Regions from separate parts of the Homo sapiens genome. Here all the other regions are linked to region 1. Evidence: promoter capture Hi-C in human tissues and cell types (Jung and others, 2019). All regions are on one chromosome and are shown on one strand. The core of a region is centred on a gene start or on the middle of the fragment in contact, and the rest is flanking DNA. Distances in the headings are between cores, read along the strand shown.

What was found. Contacts are between HindIII fragments. The study calls those that stand out against the background at their distance.
Region 2: a contact is called between a fragment that was not itself captured here and the fragment with the promoter of RASSF8 in region 1, in 2 of the 25 tissues and cell types used here (hippocampus and stomach).
Region 3: a fragment that was not itself captured here is called in contact with the fragment with the promoter of RASSF8 in region 1 in 2 of the 25 tissues and cell types used here (IMR-90 fibroblasts and hippocampus).
Region 4: a contact is called between a fragment that was not itself captured here and the fragment with the promoter of RASSF8 in region 1, in 2 of the 25 tissues and cell types used here (adrenal gland and thymus).
Region 5: a contact is called between a fragment that was not itself captured here and the fragment with the promoter of RASSF8 in region 1, in 1 of the 25 tissues and cell types used here (IMR-90 fibroblasts).

Annotation. Positions count from the first base shown.
Region 1 is chr12:25,956,919-25,960,201 of GRCh38, reverse strand. RASSF8 (Ras association domain family member 8) reads right to left here and starts at 1,520. Exons shown (of 6, transcript NM_001394098.1): 1 at 1,054-1,520. It overlaps RASSF8-AS1 (RASSF8 antisense RNA 1), which reads left to right and starts at 760. Exons shown (of 4, transcript NR_038228.1): 1 at 760-876. RefSeq lists silencers at 909-958, 1,099-1,148, 1,219-1,318, 1,419-1,908. The HindIII fragment of the contact is 6,427 bases long and covers 1-3,283 here.
Region 2 is chr12:26,087,909-26,091,568 of GRCh38, reverse strand. No RefSeq gene overlaps it. Among named protein-coding and RNA genes, the nearest start is that of BHLHE41, 35 kb to the left of the region's middle. The HindIII fragment of the contact is 6,648 bases long and covers 1-3,660 here.
Region 3 is chr12:25,778,645-25,782,190 of GRCh38, reverse strand. It overlaps the pseudogene RN7SKP262. Among named protein-coding and RNA genes, the nearest start is that of MIR4302, 94 kb to the left of the region's middle. The HindIII fragment of the contact is 5,223 bases long and covers 1-3,546 here.
Region 4 is chr12:25,802,846-25,806,138 of GRCh38, reverse strand. It overlaps the pseudogene TDGP1. Among named protein-coding and RNA genes, the nearest start is that of MIR4302, 70 kb to the left of the region's middle. The HindIII fragment of the contact is 6,268 bases long and covers 1-3,293 here.
Region 5 is chr12:25,758,451-25,761,900 of GRCh38, reverse strand. No RefSeq gene overlaps it. Among named protein-coding and RNA genes, the nearest start is that of MIR4302, 110 kb to the left of the region's middle. The HindIII fragment of the contact is 6,950 bases long and covers 1-3,450 here.

The sequences.
Region 1 (3,283 bases), core at 271-2,770:
GTTAATCTAATGGAGAGAAAAGCAGAGATTTATACATATTTTAAAATGCTTCCTGGGGACAAAGCAGATCTAATGAATTGCTGAGCCACAATCTACTGGAAAATCCATAAATGTTCGTCCCTGCTGTCACAGGGCTAGAGGATTTTTTTTTTTAATGAAATGCTTTAATGCTAACCTGACAGGGCTAACCTGACAGGTTTAAGTCAGCTATGAGACGTGATTTGCATTCATTTCGCTTCTAAATCCCTAAAGATCAGCAACAATATTGACCCGCAATTATATATCCTACGTTGCACTGTTCAAGATGCCATTTGAGGCTGGGAAAGTAGTGGTTTAGCAACACCAGGCGGCTCTATGATGCTAAAATAACAACGCAACACTGGATTCCGAACCCAAGTACTCATCTTTTAAAACCCAGTGCCGCACCAGGACCCACATTCAAAGCTCGCGTCCCTTCAAGTTGAATCTTCCGGCTTTGTGCGATTTACCCTCTCAAACTTTCTAGTTTGCAAGTCAGAATTACTTTGAACGTCCCCTCTTCTGGACTCCCCTCCCCAAAGGGACTGGCGGCAAAGGAGAATAGAATGCAGATGGTTAATAGTTCAAATGAAATTTAAAAACCTATAAACCAATATTTTTTTAGAGGAGAAAAGCGTTCACCAAACCGCCACCCGGCAAGCGAGCATCCGATTTCCATCCGGAGGAAAAAATATTTTAAAAACCAGACATAAAATTCCCTTTGCAAGAAAAGTGGCCTCTAAACTCCCTTGCCAAGGACACTGGGAGGAAGCAGAAAAGCAAAGACCAAGCTCGTACTTTTCAGTCCGCGGCTTGTGTGCCGCGAGGAGAGGCGCAAAGGGTGACACACCAGGAAAGGTGAACGCAGAGGGAGCGGGAGCCCGCGGCGGGGCAGGGTGGGGGCGGAACGGACGAGGTACCCAAGGTGCGGAGAGAGGGGCAACCGGGCGGAGGGCAGCTCCGAGGCTGCAGGCGGGACGGGCGGGGTCCCCGGCGCAGCCCGGATCGCCGCCGCTAAGTAAAGTTAATACTTACTCAGTTTCGCAACTGCGCCGCCCCCGCAGGCCGCCCAGAGGGGCCGGCCGGGGCGCTGGGGACGCGGCGGCACCCGGAGCTCCGCGGCCGCCCAGCGCCCGTCCCCGCGCCGCACTCCCCGGCACTCCCCGGCGCTCCCCGCGCCGCGCGCCCCGCACCGGCTGGAGGCCCCGGCCCCCCGGCGTTCCCTCTCCGCGCACCTCCCGGCCCGCGCTAGGTGAGTGTGGACGCCACTGGCGGGGGTGCCGCGGTGCGCGAGCGCTCGGCCAGCGGCAGAGACGCCGCGGGAGCCGCCCCCAGCGCCAACGCCGCCGCGGGCGGGAAGGGCGAGGCTCGGCGAGGCTGGGCGAGGAGCTGGGCGGCAGACGCTGAGCGGGGCGCGGCGCGGGGCGCCGGACGAGCGCGGGCGTAGGAGGAGCGCGGGCGTAGGAGTCGGCGACCCGCTCGCTCCCGCGGCCGGTGCCTCTGGGCTGGGGGCCGGGCTGGGGGCCGGGCCGGGCCGGGCCGGGCCGGGCGGCCAGGCGGCTCCGCCCCTTCGCCGGGCAGCGGCTGAGCGCGCGAGAGGAGCGGCGCGGGGGCGCCCCCCTCGGCCGGGCGCTCGGGTTTCAGCCGCCGCTCCTCCGCGCCCCGCCCGCGCCTGGCCCGCTCGCCGGCGCCGGGAGAGACCTCGTAACGGAACTGGGACGCCAGCGCTGCATTGTGGGAGCTTTTAAAGCGGCGGGGAGCTCGGCGCGACCCTCGGGCCCACCGGGCCACGCTCGCCCGGCCCGCGACGCCCCCCCGCTGTCGCCTGGCCCGCGACGCACCGAGGCCTGAGGACCCGAAAGCCGGGCGCGGGGAGATGACCGGTGGCTCGTGACGGTCCCACGGGCAAAATCTTCCATCGCCCGGGGCTGAGACTTGTCAAACTGCCCTCTACGGTCACCCGGAAAGTAGGAGGCTTTTTCTGCAGAGGGGAAAAAAATCAAAAAGAGCCGTTCCATCCCCCCTCCAAGGACTGGGTTTGAATTGCTTTTCATCTGCAGTGGCTGTGATTCAGCGTCCCTCTTAGCAGCAGGCAATGACAGAGGCAGGAGAGGGGAAAAAAAAAAAGAAAGAAAGAAAAAACACAGCAAATGAATCAAACGGACGTGAGTAACAAAAGTTTAGAAAGAGCTGGGCTCGTATTCAGAAAAAACGCCTCATCCCCCCGCCCCGCTGCACTCCCAACCCCTTTAAAAATAGCAGATAATCAAGAAAGGAAACGGGTGCTTTCATATGGAAATACAGATGTGTATGTTGTTTTCAATATTCTACTGTTTTTTTGTGTGTGGCATGCAATTACTCAGGCACTGGGCAAAATTCAGCCTTTGGATTTTGTGGTCACACATACCCCAACTCCGCAACAGCTATTAATTTGCAGGGCGATGGGGTGCGGATAGTGGATGAGATACAAGAAAGCATTCCAATTAAAATGCCCCCCCCCACCCCGCCTTTTAATTTTCCAGACACTTGCTTTTATTTTTCTTTTTTTAAACATCATCAAAACAAGAATATTAAACTTGAAGCAGAATTTGTTACAGCGTATCTGACTCAGGACCTGATTTAAGGTTTGGGGTTTTTTGGCCCTTTGTTTCTTCCTCTTGTTTTTTGACCTTTAGTTACTCCACACCTCATTAGTTCCTTGACCTGCAGGTGGACTGAGAAGAGAGCCATGGTAAGACTCAAATTTGTCAAATCAACATTTGGAGAGGAGAAAGTTCACTGTGATTCAAATGCAAAACCAAAGGGAATATGATTTAAAAGTCAACCTGGAGGGCATGGATCCTCCCTTAACCCTACTTGACTCTTTTCAAAGGAGTTGCCTAGCCTTAAGGTGAATGTTTCCTAACCTCTCATTCCCTTCTCAGCCTTTCACTCCACTGAACAACATCAGCCATTGCTTAATTGCCAAATCTAATGGAAAAATTTAATTCCCATCTTGTGCCCTTTGTGGCATTTGCCAATGTTGACCTCTCCTTCTTAGAACTTTCTGCCTTTTGGCCGGGCGCGGTGGCTCATGCCTATAACCCCAGCACTTTGGGAGGCCAAGGCTGGCAGATTGCCTGAGGTTGGGAGTTCGAGACCAGCCTGACCAACATGGAGAAACCCCGTCTCTACTAAAAATACAAAATTAGCCGGGCATGGTGGCACATGCCTGCAATCCCAGCAACTGGGAGGCTGAGGCAGGAGAATCGCTTGAACCTGGGAG
Region 2 (3,660 bases), core at 1,049-3,548, 130 kb before region 1:
AAGAAGGAGCTGTGGCCATGGAAGAGAGATGGAGGTAAGCAGATGCAGCAGATGGAGTGTGCGTGTTGAGGAATGTAGCTCCAGGCAAGAGAGAGGAAATGGAGGCAAAGGACACCTGGGCTTTGGAAATGGACCTGCAGCTTCACATGGGCGGATCAAAGGCTGGCCACAGGTTACGTAGCCCAAGTATCTGGGACAGAGATGGAATTGCTGCCTTAGGAATGAGAAGTGATTCTGAATTGAGTCCACTGGAGAAATACACATACCACATATCTCCAGCATGAGTGTTCATGCGCTGGAATCCATGGTATGCATGAAAGTAGATGACAGGTGAGAAGTCATAGTTCTGAAAGCTTCAATACCTCATTCCCCAAATGGGAAAAGGCCATGGAGCCGTATGTTAAGACCTTCTGCAAATAGGCAGTCTTCTTCCAAGTAGATCCGAGTGCATACTCATGAAGCGTATACTAAGCACTGGCGAACAAACAGAGGAAGGACATGTTAGAAGGGACCAGGTCACATCAGTGTGTCCTTGTCTCTATTCCTGCTTCTCCCTCTCAGCCTCCCCTAGCACCAGTGCTGTTGCCAGGAGACCGAAGTCTAGGAGACAGAAGAGGAGGCCACCAGGAATGGAGAATGGATAGGCTGCGGAGCCAGTGAGAACAGATTCGTGTTCCTGTTGTCTCACTTGTGAGTAATTTGACTTGGGCAAAGAGTTTTTGTCTTCTTATATGCAAGATGGGACTCATACATTCGCCTTTTCATTGAATTCAAATTTTCTGAAGGCATATTATATGCCAGGGCCTGTAATAGGTTCTAGGAATTGAGCAGTGAACAAAACAAACATGGTCCCTGCCCTTGTGCTGCTTACAGATAGGTATCAAATAACCAGAAAAATCACTGTATAATTACATAACTGTGTGACAGAAAGCAAAGAATGCTATTAGCATTTAATAGGTGAACCTAATCTGGTGGGAAGGGAAGGGAGGTTGTTAGGTAAGACTTTTTTTTTTTTTTTTTTTTTTTAAGACAGAGTCTTGCTCTGTCGCCAGGCTGGAGTGCAGTGGTGCAATCTCAGCTCACTGCAACCTCCACCTCCTGGGTTCAAGTGATTCTCCTGCCTCAGCCTCCTGAGTAGCTGGGACTACAGGTGCCTGCCACCACGCCTGGCTAATTTTTGAATTTTTGTACAAAAATGATGATCTCGATCGCTTGACCTCGTGATCCACCTGCCTCGGCCTCCCACAGTGCTGGGATTACAGGAGTTAGCCACTGTGTCCGGCCCAGGTAAGACTTTTTAGCTAAAACCAGTAGGACAGGCTGACGATTGGAGACACAGAGGCCTCTCCATGCAGGATCAGTCCTTAAGAGCAACAGGCAGCCCGATGTGCAAGAGCACCCTGCCACCATGAAAGAAGCCTGAGGGGAGGAGGCCAGTCCAGCTACACAGTGGGGACACTGGATCCCCACACTAGGGAGCTGTGTTCGGAGTTATTGACCTTCTTCCATCTGTTACCTCTTCATTGTTCTCTGTTTCCCTGGCTGCCCATACTGTGGACAATGCTTAGTAAAAAACTTTGAAGAAATTGAATTGACTGACAAATTTAAGTTGCAGCCATGTTTGTTATTTCTGTTCTTCATCTGCGTGATTTTCAAACCTTTCTGTATTCATTGTCCTTAATACATATCAGAGAATTGTGGAGTGCTAGTGCTGGAAAAGACAGAAATGAACTCACCTTAGCTCTTTATTTTACAAAAGTAGGAACTAAGGCCCAGAGAGACTCAGTGCCTTGCCCAGTGTTTGATGGCTATTATGGAATAAAGATGATTTGGAACTGCTGGGCCTCCAGACTCCTTTCTACTTTCTAATTTACTATTTGCTTTCTCTTAAAGTGCCTGATAGAGTCAGGAAATGGGGAGTTTAAACAAACATGAAGTCAACCTATTGGAAACTACTTCCAATAAAAATCTATCAGAAATGAAGCAACTCTGGCAATAAAGGGTATGCCAGAAGCTAAATGAAACAGGCATATATCTCTCCACAACACTCAAACTTAAATATTATAAATATTATATTTATTTTTTTCTTAATTAAATACAATATCAGTTAATTTTTGGCACTTTCCCTATTCTTCTTATGTCCTTATCTTTGGATGGCATAAGAACCCCTGAGCTAATATAATTCAGGGACAAAGGCAAGGGGTCTGGTTCTCAGCCCCTGTTGAGGGAGAAGCATTCAAAGGTAGCTGACTAAGCCAGCAGCTCTGCTCCCCTTCCTTCACACACAAACGAATGCACATACACATGCATGCATACACACACATACTCCAGGCAAGCTCAGCATGGGAAATTCCCCAGGCTGCCATGATGCTTCAGAAGCACTGTGCAAACAGCTTTGCAACCCTCATCCACTTTCAGTCTTGAGCAATACTGTCTCCAGGTGGTGTCTTACTTCCCTATTTAACCTCACTCCTCAGGTCCAGTGCAGCTTATTCCGTTCACTGTGTTGGCTTATTATCTTTAAAACATAAGCATTATCTTCAGGGCATTCTACTCCTATCTCAAAATTATCTTCACATACGCAAAACCACTCGCATACAAAAAGCAATTTACTACCCTAAGAGGTAAGAAGAGCCGAGATACTTGACTCCCTAATAATCTTATTTCTTTTCTGGGCATGGGGGCTGGAGAGCAAAGAAAGGTAATGTTGATAGTCTCTAGAAAATCTAGAGTTGCTAAAACCAAAACAAAAGAAACTAAAAACTAAAAAAGACATTGGTTAAATTTGTCCTTATATGATCCTGTTACCGAAGTACAATTCGGTTTAGACAAACGTCCCATCCACCTGTTGTTAGATAGTGACTGCTATGGTCTGAATGTTTGTGTCACCCAAAATTCATCTGTTGAAATCCTAGCCCCGTAGGTGATGGTGTTAAGAGGGGAGGCCTTTTCGGAGGTGGTTATGTCATGGGGGGTGGCCCAAGGGAGCTTGTTTGCCCCTTTCATCGTGTGAGGCCACAGCAAGAAGGTGACGTCTAAGATGAATGGGCCGTCACCAGACACCAAATCTGCTGGCACTTTGATCTTGAATTTCCCAGCCTCCAGAACTGTGAGAAATAAATTTCAGTTGTTTATAAGCTACCCGATTAATGGCATTTTTTGTTATAGCAGTCCAAACAGATGAAGACACTAACTCTTCTCCCAGTGCTTTTAGCTTCTAATTCCTCCTGGTCTCCTTCTCTGGCCTCTTCTACCTGTGGGTGTCATAATTGTAGATATTCCATCTATGTAATTGTAGATGCTCCTGTCCTTGGCCCTCTTCTTGGATGACACCAGCACTTCTGCAACTTGAATGTGCATGTAAGTAACATGGAATCTCACTAAAATATATATTCTAGCTCAGTAAGTGGGGCCTGAGGCTCTACATTTCCAACCAACCCCCAGGCAACACCAAGGCTGCTGGTCCTATGACCATCCTGGGTAATAAATGCTTAGATTTCTGAGAAAGTTTACCTCGTCTTCATTTTTAAATATATTTGTATGTATTTGAGGACTGGGCGAGGTGGCTCGCACCTGTAATCCCAGCACTTTGGGAGGCCGAGGCAGGCGGATCACAAGGTCACGAGATCGAAACCAGCCTGACCAACATGGTGAAACCCC
Region 3 (3,546 bases), core at 263-2,762, 180 kb after region 1:
GGTGTGCAGTGGTATGATCTTAGCTCACTGCAACCTCCACCTCACGGGTTTAAGCGATTCTCCCAACTCAGCCTCCCCAGTGGCTAGGAATACAGGCACACGCCACCACACCCGGCTAATTTTTGTATTTTTTGGTAAAGTCGAGGTTTCACCATGTTGGCCAGGCTGGTCTCAAATCCTTGACCTCAGGTGATCTGCCCACCTCAGCCTCCCAAACTGCTGGGATTACAGGCATGAGCCACTGTGCCTGGCCTGTGTCTGTTTTCTTTAAGAGACTCCACACTTTGGGAGTTCAGGGACTGGCGCCTTATCCCTTGCCACACTCCTAGCACCTACTGTGGTGCCTTGAATATAGTTAGCACTTGGTAAGTACTTTTTTCCCTCAACATGGTTGAACTAGCTCAAATGCTTAAGAACCAATAGTTTTCTTATTTACTAATATATTTTAGTGGGAATAAGAGGATTGGAGTTTTGCAAATTTTATTCTATTATTAAGCCGGATAGAGACATAGACTTACAATTAGGTTTAAAGATAATAGGGAAAACTATTTAAAATCAGGAATGGATGGGAAGAGCCAAAATGGATAATCACTTCACATGTTGGGAAGGAGGGAGGAGGGAAAGTGAGGGGAGAAGAGAAGATACCAAGTTGATAAATCCTGTGAGAGACAGCTAAAGACAAATGTTCCCTACTTCAACATTTTACCGTAGGGAGGTCCTGAAGCCCGGGATGTAATTATCTTGGCTGGAACTCCCAGACGAGGGTAAATAGAAATCTGAGTGTGTCAACAAATTATTTAATTAAACAGAGTACATGGCAGTGTGAAAGCAAAATTATAATGTGCAATAAGATAATGTGATTGAAAGCTTCAGCTGCGATGGAATGGAGAGAGTAAGACATTGAAAGAAAAATGATACAGTCCTGAGGAACAGGCCATGGACTGGGGTAGCCAATGTGAAAAATAAAACAAGAAGTCAGATAAAGAAAATGGAATTGTATTATTCAAGAATACCTGTTTATTTAGATCAACCCCTTGGGTTTAAAATAAATTTAAAAGCAATTGAGATTAAGCCATCGTTTTAGATGAGCCAAGGAGGCCTGAAAGTGGCATTAAAAAGGTCTCAGGATTTGTGGCATCAGCATAAAAGTGGCAGTTACAATTAGAAGCAGAAGTGAAATGGCTAAGATGTAGAAAAGCAAGAAATGAACAGATGGCCAAAGCATTCAGCTTGCTAGGGTGCTAAAACCAGATATATTTTATATTTCATTCCAAGTTAACAAATATTAGGACATTAAAATGCATGAACGTGGTGTGTTTTCCATCTTGCCATGTTTTTATTACCAAGTTAGGGGGAAAAAAGTAGGCTGCACGTAATGTATGCAAATGCATCAGTCTAAACAAATGCAGAGTCAGTGGAGATCAGGAAGGTCGGCTGGATTTCTATTTTCTAAAGAGCTGCCTGGTCAATTGCATCCTAAGCTTCCTGTGTCCAGATAGTCCTAAGTGGCCACCCACTTCCAGAAAGACTACAAGGGTTAGATTGCTGAATGACACTTTCTTTAAAGGTGGTAGTAGCTCCCAATGACGTTTATACATGGAAGATGTTTTTATTGAACTTTAGTATGTCATTCACCCTAAGCAATCATTAATACAAGGTAAGGTCACTGTGATCAGTGGAATATTGATAATACCAGACTGTCATTACAAGACCCATTTCTTACACATTTTCTGTGGAGCCTGGAGCTTTCTCTGTAGACTGAGGCCACAGTTAAGCACAAAATTTTCAATGGTTTGCAAGCTTACTGGTTAAGGAATAGGAGTATGTTTAGAGTCACTCATCTCTCCTGAACTTCTTTATTTGATCTCAGCCAATATCTAGGCTTCCGAAACCAGATCACGATGCTGAGTCCCTAATGGAAAACTTGTTGAGTTCCTTTTTTTCATGATTGTCAATTTCCAGGCTACCAGATTCTCTTGTCTGTCTTCAGAATACATAGCCATGCGTCTCTGAAAATAAAGAACAATTTCTCCCTCTCCACTTTTCATTTTTACCTGGACCAAAATTGCACTATATTCATTCATCCAGTCAGTCACTTAATCTATATTTATTGAGTGCTGATTATGTGGTAGGTACTGAGCCAGGAACTAGGGATGAAATGGTTTCTGCACTTATGTTCAAAAAGAGATTGACTTTCTCACAGTCTGTGTTTATTAACTTTGACTCCCTTTGACATAATCTAAATGCAGTGGAGAAAAACATTCACACCTAACATCTATGGAGGCTGAAGCTGTACATATAAAGAAATACTCAAGAGAGTGTGTGCCCTTCCTTTATTTCCATCTCCTGACCTGCTCCAAGTTATGTTCTGGAAAATACTATTAGATTGGTACAAAAGTAATTGCACTAACTAAATATGCACACAAAAAGCATCTGTGAACAACACTAATTTGCTCTCAGGCTGCAGGGGTCATTGAAAAAAGAGCATTTAGCTTCCTCTAGTACCATATTAGTATCTGGAAGGAATACAGTTTTTGACCAAAGAGAAGGAAAAAAAATTGTGCGTATATTGTATGGTTACATTATTTCATATGAATGTATGGAAAGATGTATGTGTATGTGGATGTGAGGGTCATCTGGCTGAGACATCTGTCACCCGATTGATGGCCAGGGTTGATTTGGCTGATCTGGCCGGCTAGGTGGGTGTCCCCTTTCTCACAGCTCCATGTGCATCTCTCCTGAGGCTGCTTGGTCAAAAAGGATGGCCTTCCCTGATAGAGGAGGATCATTTTTCAGTCAAGGGTATATAAGTCTTTGTGCTCTCCGGCTAGGACCTCCCAACAAGATATATGTGTATGTAAATTAATATGTATATATTTTATTATATATGTATAATTTACCTATGTGTAAACGCAACACCAAATAACATATACTTTTTTTTTGAGACAAGAGTCTCACTCTGTTGCCCTGGCTGGAGTGCAGTGGTGCAATAACAGCTCACTGCAGCCTCTATCTCCCAGGCTCAAGCAATCTTCCTGCCTCAGCCTCCCAAGTAGCTGGGACCATGTGTGTGCGCCACCACACCTGGCTAATTTTTAAAGTGTTTGGAAAGATGGGGTCTTACTATGTTGTTCAAGCTGGTTTCAAACTCCTGGGCTCAAGCAATCCTCCCACCTCAGCCTCCCAAAGTGCTGGGATTAGAGATGTGAGCCACCACACCTGGCCAACAAATACATTTTTAAATATGGTTAATGCAACCCTCACAGTAGCCATGGACTTGAGGAAATGCTATGTATGTGTGTGTGTGTGTTGGGATAAGGATGGAGGCTAGGGCAGGGTAGAGAGACTACGAGAAGGGATGCAGAGCACAGAAGCACAGAATTCCTTAGTGTCTTCTATCATAATTATTGAAGGGCTATGAATGGTACGAGAACCATGGCCAGTAGTGATGATAGGGCAGAAGGGGGAGGATGGAAAGAGATGATGATTTGAATACAGATCAGAGAAAGATGGTGCCTTGAAGATATTAATAACATATCCTGCTGC
Region 4 (3,293 bases), core at 326-2,825, 150 kb after region 1:
AAATCCTCAAACCCATCTCTAGTGGATGTCTGTCATAATTTAAACGGTATTTTCCCCATTCAAATAAAACAATCTCTTGTAAAGCTACAACAGTTATATACCAAAGCAATACCTAGTTACATGCTTTACACGGTCCCGTGAAAAAATAATTTAATTGCTCCTAATCCCTGATGCAAGGCACTTCAAAGCACCCGCACAAAACGTCCATGTAAACAGCAGTACAGTGCATCATTTAAATAACATAAATGACTTTTACACAGCTTGACCTAGGAAAAAATAAAATCCATCATAGCCACAGCTAAAAAGCATGTTAAGATTCACAACAAGAATTTGTTTCTCTTATTATAAAGAGAAGAGCAATCATAAAACCTCCTGGGGGTGGGGGAGACCTCATAAATATTTTATATTGATTGACAAAACAGCATGCTCCCTGGGTATGTATGAAATCAGAATATTCAGGAGTAACTGAGAGGATGCAAATGACATTTCTTAGTACCCAGCTTTAATATCTACCAGGCCTGGTAGTCTGGATTATTTGTAGCACCATGGAAAACTCATTAGAAAATCACAAAGGTATATACCTCAACCTTTCCATGAGGTTCATTTAATTATAGTAAAAAACAGCAGTGATGCAGATAAAGAATCTTTAAAATTATTGGCTTACTGGATTTACCTAGCAAGAAAAACTCTATATTACTTATTTTAGTACATCTCATGTACATAAAGCACCAGTTTAAATGAGATTATCAAATATCTCCAGCATCTTTTTGCTTAGCCTAAAAGTTCATTTCTTATCACTTTCCATGGCACATTCTTAAAGCCAAGGAAGATAAAACTAGAATGGTTATAAATATGAATGGAGAAATTCAGTTCCTTCCCTATCATATTTACGTGTCTCAAGTAAAACATAGATGAGTGGCAAAAGGTCTACTGCATTCTCTGGAACCTGCCACCCCAGAGTAGTTACTAGCTACTAGAGGATTAACACACAGGGCTGAGCAGGTCAAAGCCAGGGCTCTGTCAGGTAAGGGCCAGTTTTTACTACTGAGCAACCCACAAACACCACTGGTAAAGCAAAGAGGTCTGAGTGTGCATATAGCTCAGGAAACCCTGAGTTTACCCTTAGTTACCACTAAAAACTAACAAATGAGACTCTGCTGAGGCTTAACTTCATATACAAAAATCAACACCTTTGCCTCTTTGACAGTGGTAATTATTAGCATGCCCTTCTTAGGTATAAAAGGGATAATGGTATATCTAGGTTTATGCACAGTTAAGAATCAACTACAAATATTCAGACTTGTATTTTAAAATTACAGATCAAAAGTGACTCCCAAAAGAAAATCAATTTCTTCATAAATGAAACATAGTATATAAAAAGCTGGAATGATGATTAATTCAAATACAAAAGCTAGTATACAACAACCCTACTTTTTCTTCCAAACTACTTAGGTTCATACGGTTCACACTACCACACAACTGTTCTACATTACAATTACACCACTAGAGTAAAATACTAATAAAACACTTCAGTTAGCAAGCTGAGGTTCTACTTGTTGACAACTGCATTAAAACTGCAGCATTTAAGCAGAGCTGAGAAGCACCGTTCTTAAGCATGGCTTTCTTCTTCCTGTTCTTGTGTTCCACAGTGATTATTAAAGGAAGGAATTTGGTCTGTAAATGACTGGGTCATCCACTGCTCATTAGGAATGCCACTGAAAGTTGATTCTCCTCTTAACTCCAGGCTCTCAATTAGCCCATTTGAAGAGAAGCTGCAAGGTTCACTGTCGCATGGATTTTCTCCGTAAGCACCACCATATGCTGCCTCATAACCCAGATCATATTTTTCTTCCTTAACAGCCATCTTCTTTGCATCTTCTTGGGCAAGCTGTAGGTCAAATGTATATTGCACCTCTTGAACGTCCGTATTTCGTTCAATGCCTCTCAACTGATCTCTTAAGTCTTTCAGTTTTATGTAGTAATGAACTTTGTCTTGGGCCCGAGGAAACTGAGCACTTCTTGCACTGGATGACGGCATAACATAGCAGAGAGTTTCTGTGCCTGGAATCTTATGGGGCTGAAGCCCAAATTCCAAGTTCTTAACCTTTACACCAAAAACTTCTTTACTAAAAATTTCATAAATACATTTTCCATTAAACACTGCTATTCGTGGCTGATATTTCTATAATTTCTGTACTAGAATACGTCCTCCTTCACGAAATTCTTTACTGGAGAGATCTTTGCTGCCAGGCGTGGTCCTTTCCACCATGTTGGTAAATCCAATACCATACTTCCCTGGTAGAGTGTGATCATCCATATGGTTCACCTGGACCTCACTGAGCCCTGACATAAACAAACACTTCCAAAAATGGTTTCCAGGTCCAGGGTAATGATGCCCTTTGTAAGCAGCCATTAGACCCGGGTTTATGCCAATAATGACAATGTCCAGATTGAAGGTCAAAATATCGGGGAGAGTCTTGGTCAGAAGTTCAGCTTCTGAAACACCATTAAAACGGTCTACTTTTCTTTTGACTTTAAATGTGTCTGTAATTTTTCTTGCTTTTCTTTTGATTTTGCAGACTTGCTAGATTTTTTTGACTCAACAGGTTTTTTGGGTTCCACTGGTTGTTTTGGTTCTGTTGTTCTGGGTTTTCTTTTTCTTCCTTTTGGAGCCTCTTGCACTGGTTCCTGAGCAGGAGCTGGGGCTGGAACTTCTTCTGGCATTTGCTGTTCATTCACAACTGCCATATTAGGAGCTTCAGCCATCAGTTGTTGAAATGGAAACGTATAAAAAGCTTGAGCTTGCTGAAGGGAGTAGCTGCCCGCGTTCTCCGCTTCCATTCCCCGAGGCCGCTGATGCGGGCAGCTCCACCTGCCAGGCACACGGGCAGCCGGTCTCTGTAGTACCGCGTGGTACTCACTGCGGTAAGACAACCCCAGAGACCTCACCTGTTGACTTTTTATCCTACATGATGGGTCAAAACTGCTCACCATAATACAAAATAAATAGGAAGAACAGCCACAGCCAAGTAAACAATGTGTGTTTTAGAACTCACACAACTCAGGAAAATGTGGTAGAGTCCTTTTTGGCAGAGTGCCTTTGCAATATGATGCACTAATACTCTTTAGCTGGGAATAAACGTAAGGTAGAGTGTGTGGAAGATACCACGTAGAGCATGGTGCGGGGTGTGGGGGAAGCCATATATATATGTGTATGTATAATGTAATATATGTAACCGTATATGTATATACATGTATATGTAGCAATATATATGTATATGTATGTATATAAT
Region 5 (3,450 bases), core at 496-2,995, 200 kb after region 1:
AAAAGAAGTCTATTAATTAAAAAAAGAAAAAAGATCCCATGCAAAACATTCACTGGAGAGCAATCAGTTACTAATTTAGTGAACACATTTTTAAAGTCTTTCTAAAATTTGCAATTTGCTCCAATGCTTGAATTTAGATGAAGATTATATTGTCTAATCGTAAGTCATATTGTTGTTTTTTTGTAGAGACAGGGTGTCCCCATGTTGCCCAGGCTGGCCTTGAACTCCTGGGCTCAAGCAATCCTCCCACCTCAGCCTTCCAAAGTGTTGGAATTACAGGTGCAAGCCACCACACTCAGCCTAGTCATAAATTTTAATAGTTCATGAAAAAAGAGTCCAAAGTTCTTACCACATCGACTGTATTTACTGTTAAGTCATCACAATGTCTTTATGCCAGCATTTTCCAAATAAAAAACCCGAGGAATGTTAATCCTGTAAAATCATCTTGGAAGAAAATTTCTGATCAAATTAGGGAAATACAGTACTCAATAATATTCCCTTATTGAAATTTCACAATGCATATTGGCATATTAAAATCTCCCAGAAGTCCTGCCCAAAACAAATCTATTAACTGCGTTTAATCCAGACTATTTCAATTATTAAACCACAGAATTTTCTTTTTCAGTAAAACATATTAAAATCTGTGGGACATTACTTCTGAGTAACATGCTTAGAAAAGTGCTGCGTAATGCGATTATAAAATGTTTTATTTCTAACAAATAGGATCCTACTTTGTTTATAGCTTTATTGAAAATATTAATTTACAATAAATCACACATGTTTAAAGTGGATAATTTAATGACACCTATTTATACATCTGTGAAACCATCATCCCAGCCAAGATAATGAACACATCCATCAAACCCCCCCAAATTTCTTTATATCACTTTGTAAGTCTTCTATTCCATTCTTCCTTAACCTTATTCCCAGGGAACTTTTGTTTGCTTTCTGCAACCATAGATTTGTTTACGTTTTCTAGAATATTTTATAAATGGAATTATATAGTATGTTATATACTGAATGTTTGTGTTCCCCTCAAATTTATAGGTTGAAATCCCGATCCCCAGTGTGATAGTATTGGGAACGGGGGCTTTTGGGAAGTAATTAGATAATGGGATCAATGTTTGAATCAGAGGAGATACGAAAGCTTGCTCTCTCTGCTCTGTTTTCTATGAGTGAAGAGGCAATATGAAGACAGCCATCTGCAAGTCAGTAAATGGGCCCTCTCAAGACATCAGATCTCATGGCACCTTAATCTTAGACTTCATAGCCTCCAGAACTGTAACAAATAAATGTTCATTGTTTAAGACAACCAGTCTATGGTAACTGGTTACAGTAGTTTGAACTGAATAACATAAAGTATGTATTCTTCGTGTTCTGGCTTCTTTCACCCAACATAATTATTTTGAGGTCCATCCATGCAGTTGCATATATAGTTCATTCTTTTTCATTGCTGACTAGATTCCATTTTATGGATATACTATTATTTTCATATCCATTAACACATTAAGAAACATTTAGATTGTCTCTGGTACTTGGCTTTTATAATAAAGCTGCTATGACATTCATGTGTAAGTTTTTGTATACATATATGCTTTCATTTCTCTTAAACACATAGAAGTAGAAAAGCTGAATCATATAGTAGATGTGTGTTTAACTTTTGAAGAAACTTCAGACTGTTTTCCAAAGGAATTGTACCATGCTATAGTCTCACAAGCAGGATATAAGGGTTGCAGTTCTTCCACATCCTTGTCAATACTTGGTATGCTAAGTCTTGTTAATTTTATTCATTTTACTAGTTGTGTAGTGGTATCTCATTTTTAAAAATTTCCATTCCTCAATGACGAATGCTATTGAGTATCTTTTCATGTGCTTATTTGCCACTTGTGTATTTTCTTTGAGGAATGTCTGTTCAAATCTTTTGCCCATTTTCAAGGCATTGGGTTGTTAGAGAGTTCCTTAAATATTTGAGATATGAGTTCGTTACCAGATATGTCATGTGAAGACATTGTTACCCAGTTGGTGATTTATCCTTTCATTTTCTTCACAGTGTCTTTCAGAGAGTAAAAATGTTTAATTTTGATGAAGTCCATTGGACTGTTTTTTTGGTTTTGTACATGTTGTATGAGGAATGGATTGGAGTTTTTGTTTTGCTTTGTTTTTGGATGCTAATGTTCCATTTTTCCAAAACCATTTGTGGAAAAAAACTCTATTTTATCCACTGGGTTGCCTTTACACACTTGTCAATCAATTGTCCACCTAAGTAACCCACAAAAAACTATTAGAGTTCATAAACAACATCTAATTGTAATTGTGGATTTATCTCTTTCTTCTTGCAGTTCCATCTATTTCTGATTCAGATATTTTGAAGATCTGTTATTGGAGGTCTTAATGTTTAAGAATGTTATATCCTCCTGATGAATTTACCCTCTTTTTCATTATGAAATGCCTCTCTTTATCCCTGTTACATTGTTTACTCTGATGTTAATGTAGCTACTCCAGCCTTCTTTTTATTCACATTAGTACACTATATCTTTTTGTATCCTTTACTTTGAACTTATTTGTATCTTCTAACGAAGCATATAATTAGGTCAGTTTTATTTAATCTGAGAAGCTCTGCCTTTAGTTGGTATGTTCAGACCTTTTACATTCAATGTGATTATTACAATCTACCATCTTACTATTTATTTTCTATTGTCACATACGTTCTTCTTCCATTTTCTCTTTCTCCAGTGTTTTTTATGATTCTAGTTCATCTCCATTGTTTGTGCATTAGCTATAAATAATTTTTTGTGTTAGTGTAGTTATTGTTTGGGGGATTATACTATACATCTTTAGTTTATCACAGTTTAACTTCAAGCACTGTTACATTACTTCAAGTATAAGACCCCTACAAAATACACTTCCTTTTCTCCTCTCCTGGTCTTTGTGCCATTGTCTTCATACATTTTACTTCTCTATGGGTTATAAACTCCATGATGCATTAGTAATATTTTGCTTCAATCTGTTGATTAACTTATTATTTTTGTTTTGTTTTGTTTGAAATGGAGTCTCACTCTGTTGCCCAGGCTGGAGTGCAGTGGCGCAATCTTGGCTCACTGCAACCTCCACCTCCCGGCTTCAAGCAATTCTCCTGCCTCAGCCTCCCAAGTAGCTGGGACTACAGGCACACGCTACCACACCCAGCTAATTTTTGTATTTTTAGTAGAGACGTGGTTTCACCATGTTGGCCAGGATGGTCTTGATCTCCTGACCTCGTGATCTGCCCGCCTCGGCCTCCCAAAGTGCTGGGATTACAGGTGTGAGCCACCACGCCCTGCCAAGAAAAACGTTCTTTATATTTACAAGACAGTTACCACTTTTAGTGGTCTTCTTTTTCTTTTTTGTATGTCCAGGTTTTTATCAGTATCATTTCATTTTGCTTGAAGGGTTCCTCTTGACATATTTTAT